Regions from separate parts of the Homo sapiens genome. Here region 1 is linked to region 2. The links are contacts of gene promoters, found by promoter capture Hi-C in human tissues and cell types (Jung and others, 2019). All regions are on one chromosome and are shown on one strand. Each heading gives the region's core, a stretch centred on a gene start or on the middle of the fragment in contact. The rest is flanking DNA. Distances are from core to core; before and after follow the strand shown.

Region 1 (5,859 bases), core at 847-3,346, 220 kb before region 2:
AGAGGTTGCAGTAAGCCGAGATGGCACCACTGCACTCCAGCCTGGGCAACAGAGCGAGATTCTGTCTCAAAAAAAAAATTAGCCAGGCCTGGTGGCAGGCACCTGTCATCCCAGCTACTCGGGAGGCTGAGGCAGGAGAAATCACTTGAGCCTGGGAGGTGGAACTTGCAGTGAGCAGAGATTGCGCCACTGCACTCCAGCTTGGGTGACATAGTAAGACTCTCTCTAAAAAAGAAAATACAAAAAAACACACAAAAATTAGCCAGGTGTGATGGTGGGCACCTGTAATCCCAGCTACTTGGGAGGCTGAGACAGGAAAATTGCTTGAACCCAGGAGGCAGAGGTTGCAGTGAGCTGAGACTATGCCATTGCACTCCAGCCTGGGCGACAAGAGCAAAACTGTCTCAAAAAAGAAAGAAAGAAAAAGAAAAAGAAAGAAAGAAAGCTATCTTCAGTATTTTCAGACCCTTGTCAACTAATGCTATGAACACTCATAATTACATCTTTTAGATTTTCAGGTAACACCAGAATCTGTGGGTGGTTCTATTTAAAATGAAGTCGCTGCTTGGTGTCCCTGGAGGTCATCTATTTTCTTAAACCAAAATGCGCAGCTGAGGACTTGTGCTCTGGTGCTGTTCTCTTCCTGGTGTCACCAATCATGGTTTTAAATGAACTCCGGCAAGAAGGCCTGGAACCCAAGAAGGCCCCACCCAGCACAGCTGAGCCCAGACGCTACCAGAAATTCGCGGCAACACCACTTGTGAGGCTTGCCAGAATAAATACGGAGCCCCTCACACAGCCCAGGAGGGGCAGAAAGAAACCCCGCTCCCTGACTGCAAGCAGCATATTTTTTATAGAATCAGAGTTACAGGGGAACTGTCTTGCTCTCCGAAATCCTTAGCCATGCACACACACACACATACACACACACACGCACGCACACGCACACACACACGCACGCACACGCACACACGCACAGCTCCAGCAAAGCCCGGTTGGCTGCCAATGGAGGAGTGCACACGTGCTGTTTTGGGGGCATTTGTCCAGCCAGCCCTGGCCTCAAAGGCTCAGATCTAAAACAAAAACAGAGTGAGGTGCCTGGGCGGAGTGGCTGGCATGCATCCCTCCCCTGGGTCTCTGGCCAGCCTTACTTAATTTTTTTTTTTTTTTTTTGAGACAGAGCCTCACTCTGTCACCCAGGCTGGAGTACAATGGCATGATCTGGGCTCACTGCAACCTCCACCTCCCTGGTTCCAGCAATTCTCCTGCCTCAGCCTCCTGAGTAGGTAAGATCACAGGCGCCCACCACCACGCCTGGCTAATTTTTTGTATTTTTAGTAGAGACAGGTTTTCACCATGTTGGCCAGGCTGGTCTCGAACTCCTGACCTTAAGTGATCTGTGTGCCTCAGCCTCCCAAAGTTCTGAGATTACAGGTGTGAACCACCTCGCCCAACCTGGCCAGTCTTATTTATTTCACATTTTGTTTATTATTTGGGAGTTCAGAGTAAATTACTTGACAAATTTGAATACTAAAGAGAAAATTTTCACATTCGGCCAGCCTAAATCACTATCGAAATTTACCCGCGGCTCTTTTCCCTCCGTCACCTGTTGTTGGAGTTTATAAGTATTGCTAAAATCTGAATGTGTCATGTCTTCCCATGTATCTGTGCCTTGTGACGGTAACTTACATACATTTCCAGATCTCCCTCAGCGCCCGTGGTTCTGAGGAACACTCCTTCCAACCTTAGAGAGAATAAATTGCTGCCCCCTTTAGGTTAAATGTGATTTGGCTTCTTTCTGTTGCACAATCTCTTTTTTTTCTTTTTTTTTTTTTTTTTTTTGAGACGGAGTCTTGCTCTTGTACCCCAGGCTGGAGTGCAATGGCACAATCTCGGCTCACTGCAACCTCCGCCTCCCAGGTTCAAGCGATTCTCCTGCCTCAGCCTCCCGAGTAGCTGGGTTACAGGCATGCACCACCACACCCGGCTAATTTTTGTATTTTCAGCAGAGACGGGGGTTTCACCATGTTGGCCAGGCTGGTCTTGAACTCCTGACCTCAGGTGATCCTCCCACCTCGGCCTCCTAAAGTGCTGGGATTACAGGCGTGAGCCACCGCGCCCGGCCTCTGCTGCACAACCTCTTTTGCACAAATATGTCAAATTTGAATTTTCACATATTAATTAGCCCCATTCAATGGCTTCTCAAGTCAGCTTTCAGTCAGTGCAGGCCATTGTACTTTGGTAATTGCATAGTGTAAACCTTCTTCTTCTACTGCTCCACAGATTCTCACTAGTGAAGTGCTATTCTCTTTTCATCGGGACTAAAAATAAGAAACTAGGGACCCTCTGTTTTAAGTATATTCTGCATGACACTACTGTGGCAGTTTGGGGAAGAAAGAAGGGAAAGAATTTGCAGGCTGGGCACAGTGGCTCAGGCCTGTAACCCCAGCACTTAGGGAGGCGGAGGCAGGAGGATCGCTTAAGCCCAGGAGTTTGAGACCAGCCTGGACAACATAGCAAGACCCCATCTCTACAAAGGAAAAATTTTAAAATTATCTGGGCAAGGTGACACACACCTGTGGTCACAGATAATTGGGAGGCTGAGGTGGGAGGATTGCTTGAGCCTGGGAGTTCAAGACCAGCCGGGGCAACACAGTGAGACTCCACCTCTAAAAAATTAAAAATAGGCTGGGCGTGCCAGGTGCAATGGCTCACGCCTGTAATCCCAGCACTTTGGGAGACCAAGGCGGGCAGATCACGAGGTCAGGAGATTGAGACCATCCTGGCTAACATGGTAAAACCTCATCTCTACTAAAAATACAAAAAATAGCCAGGCATGGTGGCGGGCGCCTGTAGTCCCAGCTACCCGGGAGGCTGAGGCAGGAGAATGGTGTGAACGCAGGAGGCGGAGCTTGCAGTGAGCCAAGATCACGCCACTGCACTCCAGCCTGGGTGACAGAGCAAGACTCCATCTCAAAAAAAAAAAAAAAAAAAAAAAGAAAGAAAAATATAGGCTGGGTGCAATGGCTCACACCTGTAATCCCAGCACTTTGAGAGGCTGAGGCAGGCGGATCACTTGAGCTCAGGACTTTGAGACCAGCCTGGCCAACATGGCAAAACCCCGTCTCTTGTAAAAATACAAAAATTACCCTGGCATGGTGGCGGGCACCTGTAGTCCCAGCTACTCGGGAGGCTGAGGTGGGAGAATCGCTCAAACCCAGGAGGAGGAGGTTGCAGTGAGGTCACTGCACTGCACTCCAGCCTAGGCAACAGAGCAAGACTGCATCTCAGAAAAAAGTAAAAAATAAAAAATAAAAAAAGTAGTGCCTGAGCGTGCTTCCGTGCTGTGGACGGCAGGTGCCTTTGGATGATGACAACGGAGGTGGCCATGGCGGCAGCACAGCACAGTTGCTGAAAAAGCCTCTGCATAGAGGCCCCTGTCCATGCCACATGGCCACCTCCAGGGGACCAAACTGCCAGGAATACCAAGACAGGAATACCGAGAAGCCAGCACAGAGGCCTCACGACCTCTGCTCCCCGGGACCTCCGGCTCTCACTTTCACAGCCACAGAGATGCACCCGGGCGATGTGGCAGGGCCGTCTCTGAAACTGGAAAGGTTCCCTTGTCCCCCTCGCAGGATGTGTGATGAGATGTGTCTCGCTTCCTCAGTACCCCGCTCTCAACCTCCAGGGGAGCATACAGACGGGCAGGCTGTGGGGCTCCCACCCCACGGCAGTGTCTAAGGCTGGATGTTTCCAGCTCCTGAGGCCCCAGTGGGCGTGTGTTCCAGGGTGCCCTATAGGCAGCTTGTGTTAACCAGCTCAATTCGACCCTCTACCTTGCCCCAAGGACAGAGGGCTTTCTGCATCCCAGGTTCTTGCCTTGGTGTACCAGAAGGATCACACTTGGGCTGGGAGAATGAGTGCAAAGTTTTATTGAGTGGAGGTGGTTTTATTAAGCCAGAAGGGAGATGGTCTTTCCCTGGAGATGGGCCTCTCGGGGGGCCCAGCTCTCCTCTGACTGCCCCGGTTGATGGATCGATGGTCGGCCAGCGTGCCAGAGTCTGTCGGTGAGCCCTCCTGGCTGGCGTGCTCCTCTCGACGACCAGCCACATGCATCTTCTTCCTCCGATGTGCTCCTCTCCACCTCTGGCCACCTGTGTGTCTGCCCGCTAGGGTCTCAGGTTTTCAGAGGCCCAGGATGGGGGCATGGCGGGCCAGGGTGGTCTTGGGAAATGCAACATTGGGGCAGGAAATCCCTGTCCTCACCTAGGTCCATGGGGGTGGAGCCCTAGCCAGGGACCTGCCTTTCTCTACCCAGCACTTCCCTCCTGTATCATTGAAAGGGTTCACACTCTTCCCTTCCCAGTACTCCGGTATCATTTCCACTGCAGAAGTGGCAAATGTGGCCGTGGCCTGCATGGCCAAGCTGCAGCATTCACAGCTGCACATCTTCTGCACAACTTTGCAAGGAAGAGGAAGCACTCCTGGTTTTGGGTTTTTTTTTGTGTTGTTGCTTCTTTTTTTTTTTTTTTTTTGAGACGGAGTCTCGCTCTGTCACCCAGGCTGGAGCGCAGTGGTGCCATCTCGGCTCACTGCAAGCTCCACCTCCTGGGTTCACGCCATTCTCCTGCCTCAGTCTCCCAAGTAGCTGGGACTACAGGCGCCTGCCACCACACCTGGCTAATTTTTTTTTGTATTTTTAGTAGAGATGGGGCTTCACTGTGTTAGCCAGGATGGTCTCGATCTCCTGACCTCGTGATCCGCCCGCCTCAGCCTCCCAAAGTGCTGGGATTACAGGCATGAGCCACTGTGCCTGGCCTGTTGTTGCTTTTTTGAGACGGAGTCTCGCTCTGTCACCCAGGCTGGAGTACAGTGGCATGATCTTAGCTCACTGCAACTTCTACCTCCTGGGTTCAAGCAATTCTCCTGCCTCAGCCTCCCAAGTAACTGGGATTACAGGCACCCACGACCATGCCTGGCTCATTTTTGTATTTTTAATAGAGATGGAGTTTCACCATGCTGCCCAAGCTGGTCTCAAACTCCTGACCTCAGGTGATCGTGTGCCTTGGCCTCCCAAAGTGCTGGGATTACAGACATGAGCCACCACACCCCACCCACTCCTGGTTTTTTGTTGGCTGAGGTTAAAAATCAATCTTAAGAAGCAACAACACCAAACCACTCTGAAGAGCGCTGTTCTCACGCACGCACGTTCTCGGGGCTCATGGGTTTGAGCGGAGCCTCCCTGGGATGGGAGATTGGCAGCCTGGAGCCCTGGGGGACGGACCCATTCAGCATCTTTACCTTAATTGCTTCCATGCGCCATATGTATCCCAGGACCGCGTAAACAACAGCCCAAAACAACAGGAGGCAGAACTGTACTTCTCACCGGGGCTTCTGTGGAACTTGGGAAAACTGCCAGCAAGATTCAAGAGCCAAGCGCGGCGCCTTCCCCAGGCTCGAGGCCAAGTGGAGGCCGGGGAGCGCGTAGGCAAGAGCCTCCGAAGAACTGCACGCCCCTTGGGGGGCCCCGAGTCGGGGAGCCACCACCCAGCACTGTTGGGACAGGCACAGACTCATCTCTAGCAGGGAGACAATGTGCGTTCATTAGAATTCCGTGGGGCCCGGGGCGGCTTCTGAGAATTTAGAGGCCAGCAGTTTTGCTAGGTGAGGAGGTTAGAAGAAAATAAGCCCCTTGACCCAAACTTCACTTAAAAAAAATTATGTATTTTATTTCTATGGATTGATTGATTGATTGATTGAGGCAGAGTTTCACTCTGTCGCCCAGGCTGGAGTGCAGTGGCATGATCTCAGCTCACTGCAACCTCCACCTCTGGGTGCAAGCAATAGTCCTGCCTC
Region 2 (5,396 bases), core at 708-3,207:
CCAGGCCCGGGGAGGGGCGTCCCCGGCCCCCTGCTCACCTCTGTAGCCATCCAGCTGCCCAGAGAGGCATTTCAGCTCCTGCAGAATCTTGTCAGCCACCGGCTCCCGGCCCACGCCCAGGCTGTGCAGGGCACGCACCGTGAACTGGCGGGCAGCCCTCCAGCGCGCCCCAGATGAGAAGAAGATGCCTGTAGGCAGATACAGTGCGTGGTGAGCCCAGGTTCCCACCCCAGCCAGCCCCGCCAGGCAAGTGGGCAGGAAGTGAGCAGGCTGACAGGGCAGCGAGACTGGCTGGGCCCTCACCCCCATCCCCACTCCCGTCCCCCTGGGCTGGCCCTGGCCCCTCTTGACTTGGGATGAAAAGAACCCCGCTTGCTGGTTCTGAGCACCTGACCTGCTGTGTGGACACCTGGCCCTTCTCAGCACCAGCCCGGAGGCCCAGCTCCTGCCTGCTCTTCCCCAGGCCACCCTGGGAGCCTCTCCCGCTGCTGGAGCCCCCACCCCTCCTGGGGTCCAGGTGCCCCCACACCCAGTAGGCCCCGTAGCGCCGGCCACACACCGACCTCCACCTCGCTGGATGAGCTGGAAGATGGCGATGGGAGGCCGGTCGGCCAGCTCCTGCCCGGGGCCCGCCAGCGCCTCTTTGACCGCCTCGAACCCCGTCAGCACCACCGTCTTCTGGCGCCCCAGGTGCACGGTGAACACCGGCCCGTAGCGTTCTGAGAGCTGGCAGGGATGGCGGGGGTCACCCGGGCAGCCCTCACCCACAAGACCCCCCTTAGGTCCCCTCAGGCCGGGCCTGTGCTGGGTAGGGGTGGGGACAGAGGGAAAATGGGGGCAGGTGGAGGGGGCACGCCTAGATGCCATAAAGCCAGTGGTGCAGGGTGGAGGGGGCAGCGCCCAGCCTGGAGCCCACAGAGCCCTCTCGCCATCTGGTGCTTGGCATGGCTGTTGTGGGATTTTCTTTTTAGCCAAAATTCCTGGGGGGCTCAAGCCCTGAGTCCAGGCGGCAAGGTCGGGGGCTGGCTGTCTGCTGGGGTGGCACATTCTGAAAGGCCAGAGTCTGCACAGAGTGAGGGCCTGACAGGCTCGGCCCCCAGAGACCCTGATCCGTCTTCGGCTACAGCCCGGCCAGCAGCACCCCAGCCCGCAGTTGGGGGCAGCCGGAGGCAGGGCCCGGGCCTGACTGGTCAGCCCTGTCCCACTGACCCTGCCTGCCTGAGCGAGGACAGAGCGACAGTGCTAGTCAGGCTGCCCCGTGCCGTGTCCCCGTACCCTCTGTCCTCAGCATCCCTGCCCAGGAGGCACAGGTCCTCTTCCCATTTCACAGATGAGGAAACAGAGGCTCAAAAGTGGGAAGTGTTTGCTGTTGAACACCTGAGGGCCGAGGGGGGCTGAGCAGGCAGCCGACAGGCCCAGGCCCTCCTCCCCTCTGCTGTCCCTAAGCCTGGCCTCCTGCGGGCTCTCAGCAGACGCCACCGCCTCCAGGGAGCCCTCCAGACTCCTGCTCCCGCGCCGGGCCCTGGGTGGCACCTCCAGGGCTTCTTCGTACTCAGTGTGTCTGCTTCCCTGTGGGACGGGGTGGCTTTCCCCTCCCAAAAGCAGGGTGGGCCCTCCGGCCTCCTGCGTGCCCCGCTGGGCCCGGCACCATGTGGGAACAGGCAGTGGAAACCGGGCTGGGCTTCCCCAGGAGGGGGGCCAGGACACGGCAGCTGTCCAAGCGGCAAGAGCTGCCCGGGCTCCCTGACTTACCTCCATCAGGGACCGGTCCTGTTGCGACAGACGCAGCAAGTGCAGGTTCCCGACGAGCGGCAGCGGGCGAGGCCCCGGGGGCCACCGGGCAGCTGGGGAGGGGTCTTGGGCGCAGGCGCAGAGCAGCCCCCAGAGCCCCAGGAGGCCCAGGAACAGCAAGAGCAGCAGGGCCATGAGGACGTGGCTGGTGAGGCTCCACTCCCCTCCTGGGCCCCGTCCCCCCCGCACCCTTATAGGCCTCCGCGGGAGGGCGTGCCCGCACCCCACCCACCCCACCACCCCGAGAATGTGGAACGAGCAGTTTGCAGGGCAGCCCCCAGCGGATGGCTTAAAGCTGCAGGCCTGCGTGGAATGTGGGGCTGAGGCCCTGGTGGGGCCGGGGAGGGGAGGGCAGGACGGGGGCCCTCTGGGGTCAGGCATCCATGTCTCCTGGCCAGAGAGAAGGATGTGGCACGTGGACTGTTCTGCCCCTGGTTCTGCTGAACCTGCCAGTCCAGGCCCCTTGGCCTTGGCCACCCCTCAGAACTGGGATTCACAGGGCTTTGGGGCCGAGGCCCTGGCTTGGAGGGGAGCCCCCTGCCTTTCACAGGCTCTGAGTGGGACCCTGTGGAGCTCAGGGTTTGCAGGCCTCTCCCAAACCCCATCCGTGTGCACCCAGCTCTTCTCTGATCAGCTCCCCACGGGGCAAGGGACAGGAGTGAGACCTCAGGGAGGCCCATGAGGGGACTCAAATCCCACAGTCCTCACAGGCCACCACCTGCATCTCCCTGAGGGTGTTCTCGCCCCAGGTAGCAGCCTGCTCCTTTTCGAGGGCTGCCGCCCGGGCAGGGGATGCAACCCTCTGAGCTAGGACAGGAACATGGAAGGGCTGCCGGGTGGCAGGTGGCGGGGTTTACGAGCCCTGTCCATCTGTCTCCTAAACCGCTGTGAGGGGTGGGAGGGCTGCTGGCAGCAGAAGCGGCCGGGCCTGCTTTGCACAGCCTGCCCTGACATGAGGCAGCTGGAGCTGGTGCCAGCAGGCGGGACCCTCCCCACAGCCTGTCTCTGGGGCGTTGCCCATGCCCTGTACGAACCGCAGAGCCGAGGCAGCCTGAGGCCCTCACCCCTCCCGGGTTGGTCCCCCTTGATTAGCTGGGAGGGAAAGCCCCAGGCACAGTTGCACGCCTCCTGTGGTGGGGAGCTCACTACCTCTATCCTGCTGTACAGCCTCAGGGCCAGGGCTGGGCGGCTGCGGCGGGGAGGGAGTGCCTCATACCAGGGCCACTACTGGGTAGGCTGGGGGTCCTACCTGCCTAGCAAAGCTTACTTAATTAATTCAGGGAATACTTTTGATTTTTGTGTGTTTTGTTTTTGAGACAGGGTCTTGCTCTGTTGCCCAGGCTGGATTACCGTGCTGTGAGTACAGGCTCACTGCAGCCTCCACCTCCGGGGCTCAAGCCATCCTCCCACCTCAGCCTCCCAAATAGCTGGGACTACAGGCATGCACCACCCAGCCTAGCTAACTTTATTTATTTATTTATGTAGAAATGGAGGTCCTGCTACGTTGCTCAGGCTGGTCTCACACTCCTGGGTTCAAGCAATCCTCCTGCCTCGACCTCCCAAAGTGTTGGGATTGCAGGTGTAAGCCACTGCACCTGGCCTAATTTTTTAAGTTTTGGGTTTTTGTTGTTTTTGAGACGGAATCTCACTCTGTTGCCAGGCTGGACTACAATGGCGTGATCTCGGCTCACTGCAACCTCCGCCTCCCGGGTTGGAGCGATTCTCCTGCCTCAGCCTCCCGAGTAGCTGGGATTACAGGCACATGCCACCACACCTGGCTACTTTTTGTATCTTTAGTAGAGACGGGGTTTCACCATGTTGGCCAGGACAGTCTCGATCTCTTGACCTCATCATGATCCGCCCGCCTCGGCCTCCCAAAGTGCTGGGAATTTTGTAAGTTTCTTTTAGAGACGGAGTCTAGAGGCTGGTCTTCAACTCCTCCTGGGCTCAAGCGATCCTACTGTGGCCGCCTCCAAAAGCGCTGGGATTACTAGCATGAGCCAATGCCGGGCCGGCCTCTTTTTCTTTTCTTTTCTTTTTTTTTTTTTTTGAGATGGAGTCTCACTCTCGTCATCCAGGCTAGAGTGCAGTGGCATGATCTTGGCTCACTGCAACCTCCATCGCCCGTGTTCAAGTGATCCTCCTGCCTCAGCCTCCCGGGTAGCTGGGATTACAGGCATATGCAACCACACTCAGCTAATTTTTGTATTTTTAGTAGAGATGGGGTTTTGCCATGTTGGCCAGGCTGATCTCGAGCTCCTGACCTCAAGTGATCCACCTGCCTTGGCCTCCCAAAGCACTGGGATTACAGGCGTGAGCCACAGTGCCCAGCCCTCTTTTAAAAGTAACTCGTTGGCCAGGCGCAGTGGCTTATGCCTGTAATCCCAGCACTTTGGGAGGCTGAGGTGGGCGGATCACGAGGTCAGGAGATGGAGATCGAGACCATCCTGGCTAACACGGCAAAACCCCATCTCTACTAAAAATACAAAAAATTAGCCGGGCGTGATAGCGGGCGCCTGTAGTCCCAGCTACTCAGGAGGCTGAGGCAGGAGAATGGCGTGAACCCGGGAGGCGGAGCTTGCAGTGAGCTGAGATGGCACCACTGCACTCCAGCCTGGGCAACAGAGTGAGACTCCATCTCAAAAAAAAAAAAAAAAAAAAAGTAACTGTTACTGGGGAATTAACAGTACTCCTCTAACGGCTGCCTGTACGTGTTGCTTGCTCTGGGGGGCATGGCCGGGTGTGCATATTTGCATATTTACATTGTTTCCAATCTTAGGCTGTCACAGAACATCCTGATAAAAATATCTGTGTGCATACTTGCAAGGATGGGCACAGTTGCAAGGATATCTTAAAATAAATTCCTAGAAACCAGGTGGCTGAGCCAAGGCATTGTTGCTTTCTGATGTCCGGTGGACCTCCAGCGCCCTGCAGAGACGTGTGCCAACTGCAGCCTGGCTGCTCAAGTGGAACTTGGGACTGTTCTGATCAGACCTGATTGGTCCAGGCCTGCCAGACAGATACTCAGGCCTGAGCCATCTCTGTGACCAGGAGGAATGCAGTGCTGTGATTGGCTGGCTCAGGTCCTGCCTGCCCCTGACATCAGAGGCAGGGTGGGTGAGGTGGGTGGGTAGGTGGGCTCCCCCGGAGGGGCTGGAGTCAGACAGACCTGGTTCCAAACTCAGGCCCGCACCTGTCGGCTGTGGCAGATGGCGGCTTCCAGAGATGGCCGCACAGATTCTCCCAACCACACTGTCTTTGCGTAACGTAACACTGCGCTTCTCCCTCCACAGGAGGGCTTGTGGTCTTCCCCCTTTGTGACACAAAGTAGCAGAGGCCAGAAGCCGTGTTTGCTCATTCCACCAGTGGAGTTTCACGGGACGCTTTTGCAGTGTACTAGAGATCCACCAGACATCAAAAAGGAACTGTCCCTTGGCTCAGTGACCCGGTTTCCAGAAATTTAGTTTAAGGCATCCTTGCAACTGTGCGGAAAAAAGTGTGCGCCCTGCCTCAGTGACTGGGCGCGCCCCCTGGAAGAATGTCCCAGAGACTGAGCAGGCATGGCGCAGGTGCCCACGGCTCTTGCTTGAATCCCTGCATTTTTT

What was found. The method cuts DNA at HindIII sites, captures the fragments that hold promoters and counts their contacts. A contact is called where the count stands out against the background at its distance.
Region 1: a fragment that was not itself captured here is called in contact with the fragment with the promoter of CYP2W1 in region 2 in 2 of the 25 tissues and cell types used here (aorta and dorsolateral prefrontal cortex).

Annotation. Positions count from the first base shown.
Region 1 is chr7:1,199,804-1,205,662 of GRCh38, reverse strand. No RefSeq gene overlaps it. Among named protein-coding and RNA genes, the nearest start is that of UNCX, 30 kb to the left of the region's middle. The HindIII fragment of the contact is 9,567 bases long and covers 1-5,859 here.
Region 2 is chr7:979,742-985,137 of GRCh38, reverse strand. It overlaps CYP2W1 (cytochrome P450 family 2 subfamily W member 1), which reads right to left and starts at 1,957. Exons shown (of 9, transcript NM_017781.3): 1 at 1,753-1,957; 2 at 564-726; 3 at 39-188. The coding sequence starts at 1,926. It also overlaps a transcript of CHLSN not described here. The HindIII fragment of the contact is 22,766 bases long and covers 1-4,698 here.